3 separate regions of the Homo sapiens genome follow, and regions 1 and 3 are each linked to region 2. Evidence: promoter capture Hi-C in human tissues and cell types (Jung and others, 2019). All regions are on one chromosome and are shown on one strand. Each heading gives the region's core, a stretch centred on a gene start or on the middle of the fragment in contact. The rest is flanking DNA. Distances are from core to core; before and after follow the strand shown.

What was found. The method cuts DNA at HindIII sites, captures the fragments that hold promoters and counts their contacts. A contact is called where the count stands out against the background at its distance.
Region 1: a contact is called between a fragment that was not itself captured here and the fragment with the promoter of GTPBP1 in region 2, in 1 of the 25 tissues and cell types used here (dorsolateral prefrontal cortex).
Region 3: a fragment that was not itself captured here is called in contact with the fragment with the promoter of GTPBP1 in region 2 in 1 of the 25 tissues and cell types used here (dorsolateral prefrontal cortex).

What each region holds. Positions count from the first base shown.
Region 1 is chr22:39,404,788-39,408,017 of GRCh38, reverse strand. All of the region lies in intron 1 of TAB1 (TGF-beta activated kinase 1 (MAP3K7) binding protein 1), which reads right to left. Among named protein-coding and RNA genes, the nearest start is that of TAB1, 6.6 kb to the right of the region's middle. The HindIII fragment of the contact is 6,290 bases long and covers 1-3,230 here.
Region 2 is chr22:38,704,694-38,708,291 of GRCh38, reverse strand. GTPBP1 (GTP binding protein 1) reads right to left here and starts at 2,348. Exons shown (of 12, transcript NM_004286.5): 1 at 2,145-2,348. The coding sequence starts at 2,336. RefSeq lists silencers at 1,700-1,839, 2,020-2,429, 2,750-2,899 and enhancers at 1,533-2,218, 2,520-2,669, 2,219-2,904, 2,905-3,590. The HindIII fragment of the contact is 4,768 bases long and covers 1,327-3,598 here.
Region 3 is chr22:39,508,320-39,511,596 of GRCh38, reverse strand. MIEF1 (mitochondrial elongation factor 1) reads right to left here. Exons shown (of 6, transcript NM_019008.6): 3 at 159-309. The coding sequence starts at 302. Among named protein-coding and RNA genes, the nearest start is that of MIURF, 5.7 kb to the right of the region's middle. RefSeq lists an enhancer at 496-1,021. The HindIII fragment of the contact is 6,788 bases long and covers 1-3,277 here.

The sequences.
Region 1 (3,230 bases), core at 561-3,060, 700 kb before region 2:
ACTGATGGCTCCTTTCTGAACATGCTACTCTGTATACTTCAGCCCTAATGCTGGCAACTTACTCAGTGGGGAACACTTCATTAAGATCAGGGCCATAGGGCTGGGCATGGTGGCCCACATCTGTAATCCCAGCACCTTGGGAGGCTGAGGCGGGCAGATCACGAGGTCAAGAGATTGAGACCATCCTGGCTAACATGGTGAAAACCCGTCTCTACTAAAAATACAAAAAATTAGGCTGGGCACGGTGGCTCACACCTGCAATCTGAGCACTTTAGGAGGCCGAGACCGGCGAATCACGAGGTCAGGAGATCGAGACCATCCTGGCTAACACAGCAAAACCCCGTCTCTACTAAAAATACAAAAAATTAGCCGGGCGTGGTGGCAGACGCCTGTAGTCCCATCTACTATCGGGAAGCTGAGGAAGGAGAATCGCTGGAACCCGGGAGGCAGAGCGTGCAGTGAGCCGAGATCACGCCACTGCACTCCAGCCTGGGAGACAGAGTGAGGCTCCCTCTCAAAAAAAAAAAACAAAACAACAACAAATGATCAGGGCCATAGCAAGGCTGCCCACTCTATTACTTCACACAGAACTGGAGGTGTTAGCCCAGGCAGTTAGACAGAGTAAAGAATGAGAGCATAAAAACCGGGAAAGAAGTCATTTCTATTTGCAGTTGATAGGACAGTACGCCTGGCAACCCTAAAGAATCAATGAAAAACTAATGCAAACAGAAAAAGAAATCAGTTAGGCGGCAGGATAGAAAATCAAAGTATGCAAATCAACAGCTTTCATATACCCAAGAGAAGATGAGCATCTAGCCTCTATGTAATGTAAAATAACAAAGTCCTTTTCCTGTGAGTTTCTACCATGTCTGTCTCCCCCAGCCAAACTACTATAGAAGGTTGTTTTAAATCTAAATTTATATCAGTCGAATTACATCTTAATGCATTCATCCCAGCCTTCCAGACTGTCGAAAGTTTTGAATTTTGCCCTTTGACAGATTAACAATCTCACTCAGCTGTGTATCTTGTACAGACAAGGCCTTCTACTCACTGTTCCAAACAATCTCTAAAAAACTGTGACCAGAGGCCGGGCGCAGTGGCTCACGCCTGTAATCCCAGCACTTTGGGAGGCCAAGGCGGGCAGATCATGAGGTCAAGAGATTGAGACCATCCTGGCTAACACGGTGAAACCCCGTCTCTACTAAAAATACAAAAAAATTAGGTGGGCGTGGTGGTGGGTGCCTGTAGTCCCAGCTACTCCAGAGGCGGAGGCAGGAGAATGGTGTGAACCCGGGAGGCAGAGCTTGCAGTGAGCCGAGATGGCGCCACTGCACTCCAGCCTGGGCGACACAGCAAGACTCCGTCTCAAAAATAAAAAATAAATTAAAAAAAAATAAAGAAAGAGTAAGAAAAAAATTACCCAAAGAGCATATGTAAAAGTACCCATGGTAAGGCAAAGCCTGTCCCTTTCTGTCTTTTTAAGTCCTATCTACCCTAAAGGCACTGCTCAAATCCAACTAGGGCCAGAGGCCCATGATTCCCAAACCTCAATCATCCACTGACCATCTTCAAGAAACTATCTTTCACTCAAATGATTCCTTTTTTTTTTTTTTTTTTTTTGGTGACAGTCTCACTCTGTCGCCCAGGCTGGAGTGCAGTGGCGCGATCTTGGCTCACTGCAAGCTCTGCCCCTCCAGGTTTAAGCAATTCTCTGCCTCAGCCTCTGGAGTAGCTGGGATTACAGGTGCGTGCCACCATGCCCGGCTAATTTTTTGTATTTTTAGTAGAGACGTGGTTTCACCATCTTGGCCAGGCTGGTCTTGAACTCCTGACCTTGTGATCCACACGCCTTGGCCTCCCAAAGTGGCCCTGTGGCAACCATTGTGCTATAGCCTGGTATTGTTAATTAGATTACCTTATTTCACTGATTTGAAGACCTACATTTTCCACATGTTAACGTCTCTGGAGTTGGTATGTTACAAGTTAATTAGCTGTGAGTTCTCTTTCTGAGCAATAGACAAAACACTGACGTGTCCTTAAAACATTGGTGTCTTAGATCCAATGACACATGGGCAGTTTCTCACGTAATTCGGGCGCTCGCCAGACACTGGTTCACTACAGTGGCCGGAGAACCTCAGGAGGTTCTACCAAGTGGGAGTGAGAGTATCTGGTCTTCTCCGTGTTCCCCAGCGGACTCACGCTGCTGCAGCTGAGTAGGCTTGGATCGTGTTCTCCCGTCCCTTTCCATCTCCATCGAGGATTAGCCATACCGAGCGTCCATTGCTGATTCCATTAAAGCCTACAGGACTGCCAAGTCTCTCGCTTCCTTCCTCCACATTTCTGAACAATTTTCAGAAAGGTCATGTACTTTCTATTCACACAAACCACCCACCCCTCCACCCCTGCACACACTGATGCATACTTTCTCCCACGCCCCCAAATGCCAGGCCTGCCAGCACCAGCCGTGAGCGGCGCTGGAGCGCAGGGAGCAAGAGTCTGCGAGAAGCTGAGAAGGGGGCGTCTCTCACTCAGCACAGCCTCATCGCGGAGCCACTGCAACACACACAACAGCGAACGCAGGACTTAACTCTTCCATGTCTGAGAAATGAACTGCTCATGAGAAATTTCACAAGAATACGTTAAGAAGCCTGTTTCAAAAGACCTAATTTTGATTTGATTTTGTGAAGGAGTTTCCAAAATTAATGTTTCGGTATGAAAAGCTTCTACAGTGATCCAACAGTATTTAACCCAACAAGGCCTTTACAAACACCCTGTGCATGATGTAAGCATTCACTCCTCATGTATATATGTGTCCATGTCACATAATAGTTCACAAAGTACCCACACAGACTCATCTCAAAGTCCTGGGCAGCAGAAATGGACAAAGAATGGTTCCAAGCTCAGGCCACAGCTTGAATACCAAATTATGCTATGAAAAGGCCAAGTGTTTTTGTGGTAAAAGCACCCACATTCCTTAGAAGCAAAAAGGAAGCTCAGAAAGGGAGACTCACAACCCCAGGAAGAGGGCTCGGAGCAGGGGAGCAGCAGACCTTTCTCTCCAAAAAGCTTCCAAGGCCCCAATGCCCCCACCACCTCCAACCTTCCGGATGACCCACTTCTCTGAGACCAGCTCCACTCCTGGCCCCCACTTCTCCCACCGGAGTTTTCATTGAAGGTTCTCCATGTCGTCATCCTAAAGAGCTCCTCATTCATTCTTAAAGGGGCTAATA
Region 2 (3,598 bases), core at 1,099-3,598:
GGAGTATTAGCACCGTCATTTTGCAAATGTCTGCCAATAACATTGAAGTGTCAACCATTTACTTGGGTAAGCCATTTGGCAATCAGACCCCATTCTCTAACCACTCCTGTGTGACCTTGGACAAAGAATTTAACCACTCTGAGTTTCAGTTTTTCAATCTATAAAACGGAGCTAATACTACCTGCATCCTAAGGCCACTGTAAAGAGCAAATATAATAACATGTAAAGCATCTAGTCCACAGCTCAATAAATGTGAAACTACAAGGTTTTCTTCACCCAATCATTCCCAGAAAAACCTTGTTGGATGAAACTAGCCACCACTATTCACTAAGTGTTTCTCCCTTTGGAAGCTCTCGGAGCCTTAGGTCTCCACATTTTCTATCGTAAGGACATGAACCTTTCGCTTCTAATCTGTTCCTCCGGAATCAATCTATTCAACCCAACCCTTCTCTCCCTCCACACCATCACTTTTTCTTTTTGATATCATCGATATTAATATACATATGATTTTTTTTAATTGTAAGGAGGACTTCCCCAGCTATGTGATGAAATAACACTTCTAGGAATATTAAATGAGCTGGTCAAGAAATGAAGGTACTACCGTCTTTGCAACTCTGCCCTGCAATTTCCTATCATGTTTCTTCAGCACCTTGACCATGTGTTGACATCCAGTTTGTTTGCTCTTGAGTCAGGTCCATAATCTTGTAACTTCCTGAGTTGACTCATCAGAGCTTGTAATTGTAACCTGGATGTTTCCTGGGTCTTTTACATCGTCCTGGCCATCCCTCTCTCTAAGTTTGGCCATCCTCATTATGGCCTTACAGGCACAAGACAGGACCAACTTTGACAGGCTAGCTGGCTTCCAAGTGCTCACCTGAGACTACAATGGCAAAGAGCAGTTGAAAATAACTTGCTTAGGTTGCAGGGAAAGTTCCTCCCCAGTTTAGGACCAAGTTTCATGCAAATTTGCCGCCATAAACTATAAAAAGTCACAAACATTTTCAAAGCTGGATAAAATGTCTATCGTAACTATCCTACAAATGTAAGTGGTGGTATTGGTGTTCTATCTTTCACCCACTGCTATTTAATCTGCACAGGAAATTAGGAACTATCTCGTTCACTTCAAACATTTACTGAGTCTCTAGTATGCATCAGGCACTATTAGGTGTCTTCTTAAATATTTCTAATTTTTACAACCCATCTGTACTTTCTTAAGATGAGGTGGTTGGAGAACTGAAAGGTTAAGAAACTTTCCCAACGTCACAGAGCCTTTCGATGGTAGGGCAGGAAAGGGAACCCAGCCCTGTCTGACTCCCAAGTTGGCATTCTTTCCCTAAGGAACGTTAAGCACCTTCAAAACACCAGTCACATCTTGTATTTACTTTTCTATTCTTCACAATGTCAAGCCGTTGGCGAGGCCTTAATTCCTGCCTACCTTCTCGACAGCTCAAAAAACACGGTTTTAAACGTCCTTCACTGCTCCACTCATACAAGATGAGCTTCCACTCACAGGATAGCGAGACTAAGGAGCCTGACCATCTTTCCATTTTGTTTCGGGTGGCCTCGAAAAGTAGACATTCTCGGACATGCTCCTCCCCAGCTGAGCGACTACTTTCTGTTTCCTTTCCCGAGTCTGGGAAGAGACGCGGCGGCCACCCTGCCCTGGCCTCCGACTACCTGTCTTCATGAGCGTCTCGGCCCCCTGCCCGGGCCCCCTCGCCCCTCTGCTGTCCCGCGCGGTCCAGGGAGAGGAGACTCTCGGTCTCCGAATCCCCTCAAGTGGGGACCCGAAGAACGGGGAGGGGCACTGAGCGGGGACAGGGAACGCGCGGAGCGCAGCTGGCATCGGGCGCCCCCGTTCCACGTGGCAGAGCCGAGGGGTTACGATCTCGGCGGGAGACGGGAGGGCGGGAGGCTGGGTTGGCGACGCGGGGGAGCCAAGGTGGGTGCGGGGACCATGGGGACGGCCCCTCGCGCCGCGAACCCCCGCACGTCCCGGAGACTAGCAGGTGGGCGGGCTCGGCCCCTTCTTCCCGTTCCGCGCTCCCCGCGGACAGGGCGGCCGCTGGCCCCGCCGTCGCCCGGGAGACTGCTCGGCCAGCCGCCCGCTCCCCTCAGCGCCCGCCGCCGCCGCCCGGGCCTACCTTGCTGGTGAGGTCCAGCTCTGGCTCGCCGTTGAGCGCCTCGCCGTCCTCGCTGCAGTCCGAGTCAAAGCCGCCGTGGAGTCGGGCGGCGGCCGCCGCGGCCCTGGCCGCCCCCGGGGAGCTGGGCTCGGGGGCGAACATAGAGGCCGGGACCGGCGAGTCCATCGCGGAGCGACTGCGCTCCGTCGCCATCTTTAATAACTTAGGCTAATTCGTAGCCGGCTTCCCTCCCTCCCAGGCTCATTTGACTAATCTATGCACAGAGCCCCGCCCCGCTCCTTATCGGAATAATTTATGCAAAACTCCAGCCGCGTACTGGGTGACACGTACCTCTAGCTAAGAAACAGTCGACTAGGCCTCTCAGCCACCAATCCCTGCAGAGCTTTCAAGTACCTAATGAATAATTAATGAGGCCCAAATCCCAACAACAAATGTCTGAGACGTCACGCGCCCTGCTCCCAGCTTGGGAGGGGGCAGTACCGAGTCCCCGCTACCCGCCTGAAGCCTTCCCGCCAACGGAAGCAGAGAAGTGTCTGACTGACACAGCAGCCATCCAATGAGGAGAGAAATACAAACAACGTTACTCGTCAACGCCCCTTCACTCTCCTTGTTTCCAGAGGCGGTACTAAGCCTGCAAATCTTACTGCAAAACAGTAGGCGCTGTAAGCCTTCCGATGACGGACAAGGGCAGGACCCAATCGAGTCATAGAACAGGTCCCGCGCCTGGACCTGCTCATGGAGATAGTAAACTGCAAAATGAGCCTCCCACTCGATTCAGTGACTGAGGCAGTTGCTGGAACGCCGATGTCCAACGTGCTGGCATGCTCCAGGCAACTTTAATAGTAGGATCGATGCTGTAAGTTCCAAGAGTTGTAATACTATAGCAGCCAGAGTGAGGCAATAATTAAATGCTGACCTTAGGGAGAATTCTCCATTCACTGCCTTTGCGGAGGCAATCACACGAACTAAAAACAGAGGCAAGCAGCTAAAATTAAAAGCCAAAAAACACCTCACCACTTTTGTGGTGAACTGCTAAACCGAAATCTAGGGTCTCATAAGGTAGTTTCCTATGGATTATTTTTCCAGTGTCATCAGTTGTGAAAAGCCCCAACCCAAAATGCCATCAACACACGTTTTAGTGTCTTGAATTCCTGTTTCAAAAGCCGGAAAAGCCTAGGCCGTCATTGTTTGGCGAAATTAGGGATTAACCAACGTCTATGAATGTCGGCCTTGGCCACTCGAACCAGGCATCAAGCAAACAAGAGCATGTTTGAGAAGATAAGGAATCCAAGACTTAGGGTTTGGACCTAAACCCTAAATCTTTAGTGAGCAAGTGGCAGGATTGAAAATGGCTTTCAGTTTTGGGGATCTACCTGAGAAGAAAGAGACAGTCTCTTCTTGTCCCTGTTTTCCACTACTATCAAGTCTTATTTGCACAAACACAGCTGGGAATC
Region 3 (3,277 bases), core at 702-3,201, 800 kb before region 2:
ATGACGATCACTCTATACATACTTTTGAAACCTGTTTTTTTCACTTATCATTGCGATCATTTCCTCCTAGAACGCTTCGACATTTTCTTTCTATAAAACATTACATCTTATGACCATACCACTACATTCCACCCCCAGCCCTGGCTGCATGCACTTACCCGCTTAACTGCCAGCGTGGCGATGCCCAGCATGGCCGCTCCACCCACCCCCAGCACCAGCCGGGCATTGGAGAGCACAAAGTCAATGGCCGTGCCAATGCCATTGTCATCCTTCTTGCCTTTGCGCTCACCAGCGCCTGCCATTGCTCATCTGAGAATGAAGACAGAACACGGCCATAAGTACTGGGACCCCAAGAACCTCCCTCCCCTAACAAGCCAAACCCCAACAAGTACAGGGTACTCTGTGAGTTCCAGCAACCCAAATCTTCTTGCCTCCAGCACTGCATGCTTTAGGGTCTGGAGGGAGCTACAATGTCCCATGATAGATCAGGATGCAAGGAGGAGGGGCTGATCTTGGGTATTGTAGGAAAACTTTCCCCAAGCTAGTGAGATTAAGAAAGCATTAAGCTCAGTGTCAGTCCTTTTTTGTATTACAATGAAGTACCCCACCATGCAAAACAGCCCTCTCTCTGCCCCTTTACAATGTTAAAATGCAGGTCTCTACCCCTTCACAATGTTATAATGCAGGTCTCTACCCCTTCACAGGGGTTATAATGCAGGTCTCTACCCCTTCACAGGGGTTATAAAGCAGGTCTCTACCCCTTCACAGGGGTTATAATGCAGGTCTCTACCCCTTCACAGGGGTTATAATGCAGGTCTCTCTACCCCTTCACAGAGGTTATAAAGCAGGTCTCTCTACCCCATCACAGGGGTTATAATGCAGGTCATTTCTTCGTCCTTTGGCCACTACTTTGTGGAAGGTTAGATCTGAGCGGGACCTTGGAGCTCATCTAATGCCATCACATCACCTCACACAGAGGTTCTCAACATAGGGAGGTGATGTGTCAGGTCTCAGAGAAAAGAAATGGTACAGGCGCAGTGGCTCATGCCTATAATCCTAGCTACCCGGGAGGCTGAGGTGGGAAGATCGCTTGTGGCCAGAAGTTCAAGACCAACCTGAGCAACATGGCAAGACCCCCATCTCCAAAAGTAAAAGATAAAAATAAATTGAGCATGGTGGCACATGCCTGTAGTCCTATCTACTTAGGAGGCTGAGGCAGGAGGAATGCTTGAGCCCAGGAGTTTGAGGCTACAGTGAGCTATGATCACGCCACTGCACTCTAGCCTCAGTGACAGAGTGAGACCCCATCTCTTAAAAATAAAAATAAAAAAACAAAATGGGCCGGGCACGGTGACTCACGCCTGTAATCCCAGCACTTTGGGAGGCCGAGGCAGGCGGATCACCTGAGATCAGGAGTTCAAGACAAGCCTGGCCAACATGGAGAAACCCCGTCACTACTAAAAATATAAAATTAGCCAGATGTGACAGCGCATGCCTGTAATCCCAGCTTCTCAGGAGGCTGAGACAGGAGAATCCCTTGAACCCGGAAGGCGGAGGTTGCAGTGAGCCGAGATCACACGATTGCACTCTAGCCTGGGTAACAAGAGCTAAACTCCGTCTCAAAAACGAAAACAAAACGACACAGTCATCTCCAGAACTCAGGACTCCCCACTCCTTGTATGACGCTTTTTCTACTGTACCATGCTCACCCTTACCCAAATCAAATCGGCCCTTATTCTATCTACTTTCTGCAAACAAAACACAAAACAACATGTACCAAACATCCTGCACACGGAACTGAAACTACACGTCCATATGTGAGAAAGGTCCCTCCATGGACCCTCCTACTTGACAAATGCTTTGTTTCTTGAGAGAAGTGCGCAGCGGGGACTATAAAAGCTTAGGTGAGACTGGTATACCGGGAGATAAAAAACACAAAGGACACTGCAGACTCGACTGCTAACTGGAAAACAAAACACCCATCTGCTCGATTACACCTGGAAGAGGAACTAAAAATGTGTTCACCTGAAAGAAGTACTTGGGCACCACAGCGAAGAGGCTGGCCTCCAGTGCAGTGCTCAGGCCAGTGCTGCTCCCGACTACAGTGGAGTCTTCCTGACTGCAGCAGCAGCAGTCCCCAGATAAGCCCATTCCTGTGGAGTTAGAACCCTGGGCCTGAGCCGGATAAAGGATGACAGTGTGATTCAGATCGGAATACCACTCAGCATGCTGCCACTCTCCTCTATAATATCCCGTGTCCTTCACACCAGGAATGACATAAGGGAAAACAAAGTCGGATACCATTTAGCGTCCCAGAATGGGAGGACATCAAGAGACAGGATCAGCCGGGCGCGGTGGCTCACACCTGTAATCCCAGCACTTTGGGAGGCCAAGGTGGGTGGATCACGAGGTCGGAAGTTCAAGACCAGCCTGGCCAACATAGTGAAACCCCATCTCTACTAAAAATACAAAAAATTAGCCAGGCATGATGGTGCATGCCTGTAATCCCAGCTACTCGGGAGGCCAAGGCAGGAGAATCACCATTGCACTCCAGCCTGGGTGACAGAGCAAGACTCCGTCTTGAAGAAAAAAAAAAAAGGATCACTGAGGATTATCTTCCATGTAAAATAACATTCCTTCTAATACCGTGTTACAAGTGGATATTTCTAGCTTCCACATCTTACGCTCCTGCCTCTACCTCCCTGAAAAACAAAGAAATATTTCTGACTCTATTATTCCAGTAATTGAGTTAACTAAGAGTCACTGTCAAGCCCAAAAATATTTTTTTCCCTAACTAGAGTTCACACCTTGGGGGTACTTTCCTTTTCTCTACCATTTACAGTCAATAGAGGCTTCAGGTTTAGGGACATGAAAGACTATTTCGCCAAACCGAGTACATTCCCACCTCAAATGCACAGAGCAAAGCCAGGGAGAAGAGATAACGTTTGTATTTACAGGTGGAATCAGGGAAGAACAGCAGACACCCTCTCTCCAGTGGCCACTGAGATAGAGACGGGACAAACCAAACTTAGCAGAGGCAAGATAACCCAATCAGGAGAAAAGCAGAACACTATACATTTCCCCACACATAACAATGTCTCTTGTTTTAACTCTTTACTGAAATATTTACAATAGGGAGAGCCACTGGACACATGTGCCCTCTAAATGATCCTTGAGTGTGATGCAGCAGGGCCAGAAGGGCACCTCCTCACTCAGGGCAGAAGCAGCCTCCCTGGACCATTTTAGTCCTTGGTGCCCTTCTGATGACTGGTGAGAG